Regions from separate parts of the Homo sapiens genome. Here regions 2 and 3 are each linked to region 1. The links are contacts of gene promoters, found by promoter capture Hi-C in human tissues and cell types (Jung and others, 2019). All regions are on one chromosome and are shown on one strand. The core of a region is centred on a gene start or on the middle of the fragment in contact, and the rest is flanking DNA. Distances in the headings are between cores, read along the strand shown.

The links. Contacts are between HindIII fragments. The study calls those that stand out against the background at their distance.
Region 2: a contact is called between a fragment that was not itself captured here and the fragment with the promoter of KCNE2 in region 1, in 1 of the 25 tissues and cell types used here (dorsolateral prefrontal cortex).
Region 3: a fragment that was not itself captured here is called in contact with the fragment with the promoter of KCNE2 in region 1 in 1 of the 25 tissues and cell types used here (dorsolateral prefrontal cortex).

What each region holds. Positions count from the first base shown.
Region 1 is chr21:34,362,538-34,366,069 of GRCh38, reverse strand. KCNE2 (potassium voltage-gated channel subfamily E regulatory subunit 2) reads right to left here and starts at 2,064. Exons shown (of 2, transcript NM_172201.2): 1 at 1,919-2,064. The region is part of intron 2 of LOC105372791 (a long non-coding RNA gene); the gene reads left to right. The HindIII fragment of the contact is 19,800 bases long and covers 1-3,532 here.
Region 2 is chr21:35,758,848-35,762,323 of GRCh38, reverse strand. No RefSeq gene overlaps it. Among named protein-coding and RNA genes, the nearest start is that of MIR802, 40 kb to the right of the region's middle. The HindIII fragment of the contact is 3,423 bases long and covers 284-3,476 here.
Region 3 is chr21:35,917,971-35,921,588 of GRCh38, reverse strand. No RefSeq gene overlaps it. Among named protein-coding and RNA genes, the nearest start is that of LINC01436, 86 kb to the left of the region's middle. The HindIII fragment of the contact is 6,106 bases long and covers 1-3,618 here.

The DNA of each region.
Region 1 (3,532 bases), core at 815-3,314:
TGAACAAAGGCCCCACTGCTAAGCCGGTCAGGAGGTGCTTTTTGATAAGACTTAATCACAGGGATGAAAGGGCCTATAGGGATTAAATGTCTAAGTGCTCACCCGTGGCCAGGCCAAATAAACAGGATCCAAAAGGGATTTGGCTTTTGAATACGGATGCATGAGATGTGGCCGAGTGGCCCATGCCTGCTCCATGACCACAGGAAAAAAACAAATCACAGTGTGTGAAAGCAGCTTCGTTGAAGGACATTATGCTAAGACATTCCAATTATAAGTGGGTTGATTTCAATTTTTTATTCCCAGAATTACTGTTTAACTGACTGATAGACATCAACCATATTTGGAGGCCAGGCACAGTGGTTCACACCTGTAATCCCAGCACTTCGGGAGGCCGAGGTGGGAGGATCGCTTGAACCCAGGAGTTCGAGATCAGCCTGGACAACATAGCGAGACACCACCTCTACAAAACATAAAAAAATAGCTGGATGTGATGGCACACTCCTATAGTCCCAGCTACTCAGGAGGCTGAGGTGGGAGGATAGCTTGAACCTGGGAGGTCAAGGCTGCAGTAAGCCATGATCACACCACTGCACTCAGCAGTGACAGTGAGACCCTGTCTCAAAAATCAAATCGAAACAAACCATATTTGGTATACATACTTATCCTACCCCTAAGTAGAATATCATAATAGGCATTTACTTTAGTAATGCTAAGACAACTACCATTTATGTTCTCTGGAATTATATGAAATAGCCATTTATATAGGTTAGAAATGGTCAAATATGGGCAATTCATGTGTATCAACCTAGGAGGACCTACATTTCCAGTGAATGCTTCTTGCTGAGTCCTAGCACAGGCTGGGCCCCTGGAGATCATTTAGGCTGGTTTGCTCTCTGATAGGTGGAATAACTATAGCCTAGAGGGCTTAAGTCACCTGTCCAAGATCACAAGCCTCTCAAGTTGGCCACAGTGCCTGGACTAGAACTCACATCACCCAAGCCAGTGTCCAGCACTGACTGTCCTAGCAGAGGTCACACATTCCAATAACTCACTGTTTTCATTGCTGTGACCAGTTGGCTCAACTGGGTACAAGACATAAGATCAAGACCATGATTTGAGCTTACACATGTCATTAGTTGTGCCCTGTCTCCAGGCTACAGAATGATCCCCTAATTCCAGCCATTCCTGTCATGAATGTGTGTTATTCATGACAACAGCAATCAGGACACTATTAGGAAAGTAACACTCATTTGACCCCAAAGTCCAGAGTTTTCTTTTCTTTCTTTTTTTTTTTTTTGAGATGGAGTCTCACTCTGTCGCCCAGGCTGGAGTGCAGTGGCGTGATCTCGGCTCACTGCAAGCTCCACCTCCCGGGTTCATGCCGTTCTCCTGCCTCAGCTTCCTGAGTAGCTGGGACTACAGGCGCCAGCCACCACGCCAGGCTAATTTTTTTTGTATTTTTAGTAGAGATGGGGTTTCACTATGTTGGCCAGGCTGGTCTCGATCTCCTGACCTCAGGTGATCCGCCTGCCTCAGCCTCTCAAAGTGCTGGGATTACAGGCGTGAGCCACCGCGCCCAGCCCCAAAGTTTTCTTTTCTTGAAACATGGTAGATCGCTCACATCACCTGGGCCTATAAAAGGCAGCAAAGTCTTTCATTTTTATATCAAGAAGAGAAAACAATATGATTACCTACGTTTACCATGAATCCTCCATTTTAAAAACTCTCAAAATTTTCATTCTAAGGCAATTAACAAAGAAATGAGTAAGGAAAACACAAGAAGGAAAGAAGGAAGAGTGGATGAGGAGCCAGGCCATGTACCAGGAAAATCATTCCTTTTATCATTTTCTGGAAAAGGCACATAGATAACTTTGTTACTTAATTCCTCAAAAAATAAAGAATGTGTGCTAAGACTTACCTATGCAGTGTGTGGGCAGGATGAAATTCCTTTCCAAAGCCAGGCTGTTCTGAACCTTCTTGCTGGCGTTAGCGAGCTCTCTTCTGGGTTGCACACAAGCCTCAGCCTGCTGGGCACCTTCACCTTACAACCATCTAAGCCCTTGCAACTGCAGTCTGCAATCCTATGCTTTTATGAACCCACATGTTTAATCTAATCGTATGTGGAAAGTTAAATACTAACTGGCAGTTGGAATTCACCTTGGTGCCTGATGGGGTGTGTGCCTCAGGGACTCTGGCTTTGGGCAGAGTGGCACAAGTTCCTGCTCTGGGACCCTTCCTGCCAGCTCCAGCCAGGGCAGGGCCTGGGTACAGTGAACATCTTTCCCCAGAAGAAGTCTTCCTCTTAGGGTAGGCTTGGGGGACAACAGCATTCCCTGCCAGAATACGTGGGAAGGGCTGGGTGGGGTGGCTCACGCCTGTAATCCCAGCACTTTGGGAGGCTGAGGCGGGCAGATCACCTGAGATCAGGAGTTCAAGACCAGCCTTGCCAACATGGTGAAACCCCGTCTCTACTTAAAAATGTAAAAATTAGCCAGGTGTGGTGGCACACACCTGTAGTCCCTGCTACTCTGGAGGCTGAGGCAGGAGAATCACTTGAATCCACAAGGCAGAAGTTACAGTGAGCTGAAATCATACCACGGCACTCCAGGCTGGGTGACAGAGTGAGACTCTGTCTCAATGAAAGAAGAAAGAAGAAGAGGAAGAGGAAGAGGAAGAAGGAAGAAGAAGGAAGAAGAAGGAAGAAGAAGGAAGAAGAAGGAAGAAGAAAGAAGAAGAAAGAAGAAGAAGACGATGTGGGAAGGACAGGGCCCCAGGGAGAGGAGCCAAGAACAGCCATCTCTGGGTGGTTGGTATGGGTTGAGGGGGTCAGTATAATTCCAGGCAAGTGCCGTGTTCTGAAGACGCTAAATAAGCTAGATTCTGGTAAATACTCCTCCACGGGACCACATCCAAATGAGTTTATAACAACATTGTTGTCTTGTAAAAGAGAAACGGGCTGCAAGGGTACTAAGGTACTACATGGAGGAGCTGGAAGTTAAGTCCAACAAAGAGGTTTTGAGGTTTTTGTTTGTTGTTGTTGTTTTGAAACAGAGTCTTACTCTGTCACCCAGGCTGGAGTGCAGTGGCGCAATCATAGCTCACTACAGCTTTGAACTCTTGGGCTTGAGGGATCCTCCTGCCTCAGCCTCCCAAGTAATGGGACTACAAGTGTGTACAAAGCCTGGTTAATTTTTATTTTTATTTTTGTAGAAATAGGGTCTTGCTGTGTTGCCCAGGCTGGTCTCAAACTCTTGGCCGCAAAGGATCCTCCAGCCTCAGTCTCCTAAGGCGGTGGGATTACAGGTGTGAGCCATGGTGCCTGGCCCCCAGCAAAGTATTTAAAGACCTAGCAAGAGCTAAACATACTCTATTTACCAAAAGATCCTTTTCTATCATGGTGGGGACCCTTGGAATTGGGAGAACTGAGTCTTTATATTGGCTATCATTTAGGAGTGCTTACCATGTGCTTTTATCGTATTAACCTCAGGTAATCATTGCCACAACCTGATGTGGAAGGTACTGTGAACTTAGC
Region 2 (3,476 bases), core at 746-3,245, 1.4 Mb before region 1:
GGGCTCATGTGTCCAGTGCAATGATTGGAAATAGAACAGAAACAGGGAGCTGCAGAAGCTGCAATGGGCAGGATGGGCTGCTTCTGGAGCATGTGACCTCCTGGTTGGAAGACCCTTTAGGGAAAGCATATTAGACTGGTTATTGGTGGGAGTGGTTAGGAGGAATCTCTTGGGATCGTATTCTTATCTGGCCATGTTAATGTGATCTGTGATGCTCCAGAAATATCTTTTCTGACAGGATGGATGGAAGGTGACTCTAACTGTGATGGAATGATCTATAACGATCTATAATGAGATCTTTATTTAGCACTTGATCTTTCTTTAGAACCAACTCTCTCAGAAGAAGTCATAGTCAGGTTGTTACTGTGGGTGAAGTCTAAGGTCATTTTTCTTGGAGGCTATGATATCAAACTCAGGACAAAGACTGGCCCAGCCAAAATCTTTCTCAATAATTCTTTATGATTCTGTCATCTGCTAATGGCCTCACAGCTCTCCTTCCTCCTGGGAATACTGAATTCCGTAAACCTACTCACCAAATGCATAGGAGAGACTTTGCTCTTATTTATTTTAATTTTCAAATAGTCTGTCTTATATTTCTTTTCACTAATTTAAGGAGATGCTACCAAGGTATGGTTCACTGGAATTTGGTAAAAAGCCAGTGAAAGTTGAGAATGGAAGAGCAAACATATGTATAACTCAAGAACTTTCCAATTATTTTTCTTCTCAATAGACGTTAAGCTGCTCATCAATCTTTTTATACCCTGATTATATGGTTGAAGAAAATATAAATTCTATCCATTAACTTAGGACTTATTCTTTTCTCCTTTTAGTTGATATTTACTTCTTAATAGTTTTCTTTTGGATTAAAAAAGAAGTTCCACTATACTTTATTCTGCAGTCCTTATGTATTAGACCTAGGAATTTACATTTCATTCAGAGATCAGAGTTTTAATTTTTAAAACTTAATAAAATATTACTATTTTGATAAATAATATTTATATATATGAATGAGCAGACTATATATATTGTAGTTTCTTAACAAAAAAAAATTGTTACTATAAGGAACAACCTCCCTGGACTGTCATCCTTGCTGAATCTGACCCTGGCTGTCATGGAAGATGGTTGGTAGTCAGAGCTGACTTTTGGATGTGTCTGGCTCTTGAAGTTCTGACAGCAAAGCTTTGAAGTGGGGTTCCTGCCTCAGACCCCCCAAACAGCCTTGGTTATAGAACACACAGAACAACCAAGGATGTGTCTCCGTCGTGTTTTCATTAGGCTTCTGTGATGGTTAATTTTATATGTCAACTTGACTGGGTTAAGGGATACCCAGATAGCTGATAAAAAATTATTTCCGAGTGTATCTATGAGGGTGTTCTGGAAGAGATCAGTATTTGAATTAGTAGACAGGGTAAAGAAGATTGTTGTCATTGATACAGGTGGGGATTATCAACCTGTTGAGGGCTCAAATATTATGAAAAGGTAGAGGAAGGGTGAATTCACTCTTTCTTTTTGAGCTGGAACATCCAATCTTCTCCTGCCTTTGGACATCAGGACTCCTGATTCTCAGGCTTTGGATTCAGATTGATTTGTACCACTGGATTTCCTGAGTGGCCAGCTTGCAGACAGCAGGTGGTGGACTTCTTGGTCTCCATAATCACATGAGCTGATTCCTATAATAAATCCCTCTTGTATAACTCATATTTCTACTGCTTCTCTTTCTTTGGAGAACCCTAACTAATATAGCTTCTTCACTCAGGAGATTAAGAGTGATTATCGAGAGTGATTATCTTGTAACTTGAAAAACGACTTCCCATACTAAAAAATCTTTTTTTGCACAAACTTTTTATTATGGGAAAATTCAAATACTTATGTGCAACAGTAGAGTATAATGAACTCCCATGTTTCCAACAATTTGCTTTAACAACAATCAACTTGTGGACAATCTCATATTCTCTGTACCTCCAGTACCTCCTGTATTAGGTAATTTATACAGGTCTCAGGTAGTACTCCTGAGACTGGGTAATTTATAAACACAAGAAGTTTAATTGACTCACGGTTCTGCAGGTTGTACAGGAAGCATAGCAACTTCTGCTTCTGGAGGGGCCTCTGGAAGCTTCCAATCGTGGCAGAAGGCAAAGGGGGAGTGAGATATCTCACATGGCCAGAGCAGAAGGAAGAAGGGAAGTGGGGCAGGTACCACACACTTTTAAATAACCAGATCTCATGAGAACTCACTATCTCAAGGACAGTACCAAGGGGAAAATCTGTCCCCATGATCCAATCTCCTCCCACCGGGCCCCATTTCCAACACTGGGGGTTACAATTTGACATGAGATTTGAGCAGCAACACAGAAGCAACACATAGCACCTCCCCTCCAGGTTATTTTGAGGCAAATCCCAAGCATCATATTATTTTATCTAAACATATTTCTAAAGACATAGGCTCCCCATTTTAAATAAAAACACAATATTATCTCACTTTAATATTCCCTCAACATCACTAAGTATCCAGCGAGTGTTTACATTTCCTTGATTGTACTGTAATTTTTAACCTTTTATTTATTTGAAAAAGTATCAACTAAGACCCATATAGTGTGATTTGCTAACATGCCTCTTATGTCTTTTTTAATCTATATTTTCCCTTGCTCTTTACCTTTTAACCTTCAGGCCTCCCCCTAGTTTGTATTTTGCTGATGCTTCCCCAGATGTAGACACCTGTGGTGTCATTTAACATGTTCTTCTGTTACCTGGATTTCCTATGAGCTGGTATTAGATCCAAATGCTTAAATGGACTAAGGTTCACACTTTTCAGCAAGGTTATTTTACAGGTGGGGTTGGTTCTTCTGTGGGGGACGTAATGTCTGGTTTTTCTCTTTGTGTAGGAAAGGCAGGGTATGTGCTTGACACTCTCTTTACTCATCAGTTCTCAAAATAACAAATTGGTTTACTAGTCTTCTCCAAAGGCAGTCAGTGATTTTACAGTGTTCTTATGAAATTTTGGATGAAATCTATTTGGTATGTTTCCATCTGTTACAGTTAGTGTCCTTACTCATGCTCACCTTGTGCCATCCTTGACCAGTGGGGCCTCATAAGTTGATTTCTGAGTCCTTTGAAGCACTCTGGCTGTCTTTGATGGCTTCCTTGCTTTCCAGTGTGACGGTGCATTGAAGGGCCCTCTTCTACATACCCTGTTTCAGGCCCGGAGTCAGCCATTACTCTGGGATGTCCTGTTCCTTTGTTTTGGGAAACGATATTTGGAGCACCAAGAGACCCTGTTTCCACCATATTTATCATCATTCTTAGATTTATCTATGGAAAGACCTAGGATTTTTTGTTTTAAGCATAAAATGCATCAGGAGTTCCTCCTGGTGCTTCCTGTTTATTTAACTTAATTTAATTTATTGATATATAAGCGTTGTATAAATTTTGGGGTACATGTAATATTTTGATACCTGTATACAACGTGTAATGACCAA
Region 3 (3,618 bases), core at 471-2,970, 1.6 Mb before region 1:
AGATCATTTATTGATATTTGCTTTAGGTCCTTTCAATGTACATAATCCTGGCAGTACAATGTCATCACCTGATCCATTTTATAAAATCTTTACTGCTTGCAACCCATCCTCAGTGACTCTGATAGAATTGTCCTGGGGAAGCTGCTGGCATCAATATTATTATTAGACTTTTGTTTTAAGTTAAGTTTATTATTATTATTAAACTTTTGTTTAAGTTACATGTGCAGGTTTGTTACATAAGTAAACTTGTGTCATGGGGGTTTGTTGTGTAGATTATTTAATCACCCAGTTATTATGCCTAGTACCCATTAGTTATTTTTCCTGATCCTCTCCCTCCTCCCACCCTTCACCTTCCTATAGGCCCCAGTGTGTGTTGTTCCCCTCTGTGTGTCCATGTGTTCCTGTGTGTCCATGTGTTCTCATCATGTAGCTCTCACTTATGAGTGAGAATATGTGGTATTTGGTTTTCTGTTCCTGGGTTAGTTTGCTAAGGATAACGGCCTCCAGCTCTATCCATGTCCCTGCAAAGGACATGATCTCATTCTTTTTTTATGGCTGCATAGTATTCCATGGTGTATATATACCACATTTTCTTTATCCAGTCTATCACTGATGGGCATTTGGGTTGGTTCCATGTCTTTGCTATTGTGAATAGTGCTGCAATAAACATACGTGTGCATGTGTCTTTATAATAGAACAATGTATATTCCTTTGGGTATATACCCAGTAACGGGAGTGCTGGATCAAATGATATTTCTGTTTTTAGGTCTTTGAGCATCCATATTATTTAACATTCTTCAGGTGATGCCAGTAGGACAACTGAGGTTGAGCGCAAGGACTCTGGGTGTTGGGAAACGCTTTTTTATTCTGATGAAAGTTAGCTCTCCTGAAACCACCACCTAGCCATGCTGGTTCTGTCCTCTGGAGCAAAGTCCATTTCTTCTTTTATGTGACAGCCTTTCAAACACGTGAAGTTGATAACTTGCTCTACCACTTCCCTAAGGCTTTCTCTTCTCCAGGCAAAGCCACTCATTTTGTCCACAGTTACTCCTATGATGTGGTTTTATTTCCTTCACCATCCTGAGCACAAGCAGCTTTGTCAGGATGCCACTTACAGTGTGTGTCTCTTCATGCTTTTGTTTCATTGTGAGATTGCTGTCAGCTAAATCCCCCCAATTTTCTCCCACTAAAAGCTTACAGCTTAGTCTGGGAGGTAAGCATGCCAGTAAGCCAAAGCCTCCTCATCCTGTAATTATGAAATTGATTTTTAAAGTCTAAATGCAGGACTTTTATTTACTCTTACCCAATTTCATCTTGTTGGGTTTAACCAATTTAATTCTGTCCTCCAAAAATATTGGTAAGTATTACCTATTGGGTAAGGCATCTTTATATTTTTATTCATGTTATTAATAACAATAATAATAGCCTCTATTGACTGCAAGCACCACCTGATTAGATTGAAAGAGACAGAGATGGAGCTCCAACCTCTAGAAGCAGGAAGTAGACTGAAAATCCGACAAAATCACCAACTCGGTATTCTTATAGAAGAGGAAGATATTCAGGAGCAGAAACAGGAGACCAGAGGGTACAACCAAGAGTATTGGAGAGTACTAGGCTCTAGAAAGGAATTTGCAACACCTATGGAGCTGGATTGCAGAAGTGCTCTGGGGGCCATTGCCAGCTCTGTGCCTTCTGTTTCCCCCTTTTAACGGGAGTGTCTCTTGTGGTTATCCTCTGCTTATTCCACTATCGTATGTGGAGTGTGTGTGTGTATTTGTGTGTGTCTGGGGGGTGGTGGTCAGTAAAGGTAACTTGCCTCTTTAGTTCCTAATAGTCAGATGGTGATGAACAGTACTCAATATGTTGTACCCAAAGGGCCACTCTCAGGGAGCTTCATTTCCACTTGGACAGGATTTAAAGGGTTGAGATGTTTGCAGGATCCTGGGAGGCATAAATGCATTTTGCATGCTAGAGGGATGTCAATAATTGGTGTCCAGAGGCAGATTGGATCTGGACTCTCTAACTGCTTGACCAATGGCATATGGTGAAGTGACATCGTGCCATTTTTCAGGCCTTAGTTTTAAGAAACTGGTAGCATCTACTTTATTAATATCTCTTGAGAGGCTTATTCTTGGAATCCAGCCACCATGTTGAGAGGAAGCCCAAGCTGTTTTGTGGAGAGGCTTTCATGGGGAGGGTCCAACACCCAGAACAACTTGCCAGCCATGTGAGGGAGCCACCTTGGGAGTGATCCTTCACACCAATCCAGATGTCCCAGCTTATAGCAGTAGAGCCGAGATGAGCTGTCCCTGATGAGCCCTGCCCAAAGTCAGATTTAGATGCATGTTAAATCATAGTCATAGTTTTAAGCCACTAAGTTTGGAAGGGTTTGTTTTGAATCCATAGCAGTGCCAGGCACTGTGCTAGCAACTTTTTATATAGTTGATTATTTAATCCTTCAAGTGATGCTATGACTTAGGCATTATTTTCTTCTCATAATAGATGGGAAAACTAAGGCTCAATGAGTTTAACTAACAGCCCAAGGTCATACAAGTAGTAAATGGCGATAATGAGTTTCAAACTGAATATTGTATCATTCTTTGAACCTCTAAAATGTTGAGTGGGACAGGTCCAAGGGCAAGAAAACCATGCAGCCATTTATCGGACATTTATAGAGCACTGCCTGTGGAGAAAAAAGACAGTCTGTCAAAAAGTGGTAGCTTAGAGGGGGGACAGACATGAAAACAAATAAATACAGTTCAGTTTGACATGTGCTAAAACATTTGTATATTACATTCCTGACAGCCAAAGTGAAAGGATGTGACTATACTTCCAGTTCTTTCTCTGCAGATTTTGCACCTGCAGAGATGTGTAGACTGTACTTATATACATGTTTTAATAAACAAGTGATAGCGTACTATAAATATTCTATGATTTATTTTTTTCATCATGTATAAGAGCCCAATATTTTAAACTGATGACCACAGTTTTTTAAACTGCTCTCCTATTAGATGTTTTTAATTTTTTTCTATTGCCCACAGTGTTGCCTAAGTATCTTTATATAAACAGCACATACATAGGTATATTTCTTTAGAAATTATTGACTCAAAGGTTATGATTGTGATTTTAAAAAAATTATTGCCAGAAAAGCTTTACCAATTTGTACTTTCACCAAGAATGCGTGAATGGGGAAATTTCTCCCCTTCTTCATCCCTGTGAACACTGCTTTTTTATCAGTCTGTTAAGTTTTTACCATATTGATGGGAGACTATTGTGTTATTGCTGTTTTAATTTTCAATTTCCTGGTTATCAGATAATTTCATTTGCTTTTGGCCCTGTGAGTATGTATGTGTGTATATGTGTGTGTGTGTGTGTGTGTGTGCATATGTGTGTGTATGGGTGGGTATATATATTTGTGTGTGATATATCTATATATATCTATATATATTTTCAAGACTTTCTGGTAAACAATTTTTTCCTGCTTAATTTTTTTTTTTCTTGGCTGGGCACAGTGGCTCACATCTGTAATCTCAGCACTTTGGGAGGCCAGATAGCTTGAGCCCAGGGGTTCAAGACCAGCCTGGGCAATATGACAGAACCCTGTCTCTACATGGCTGG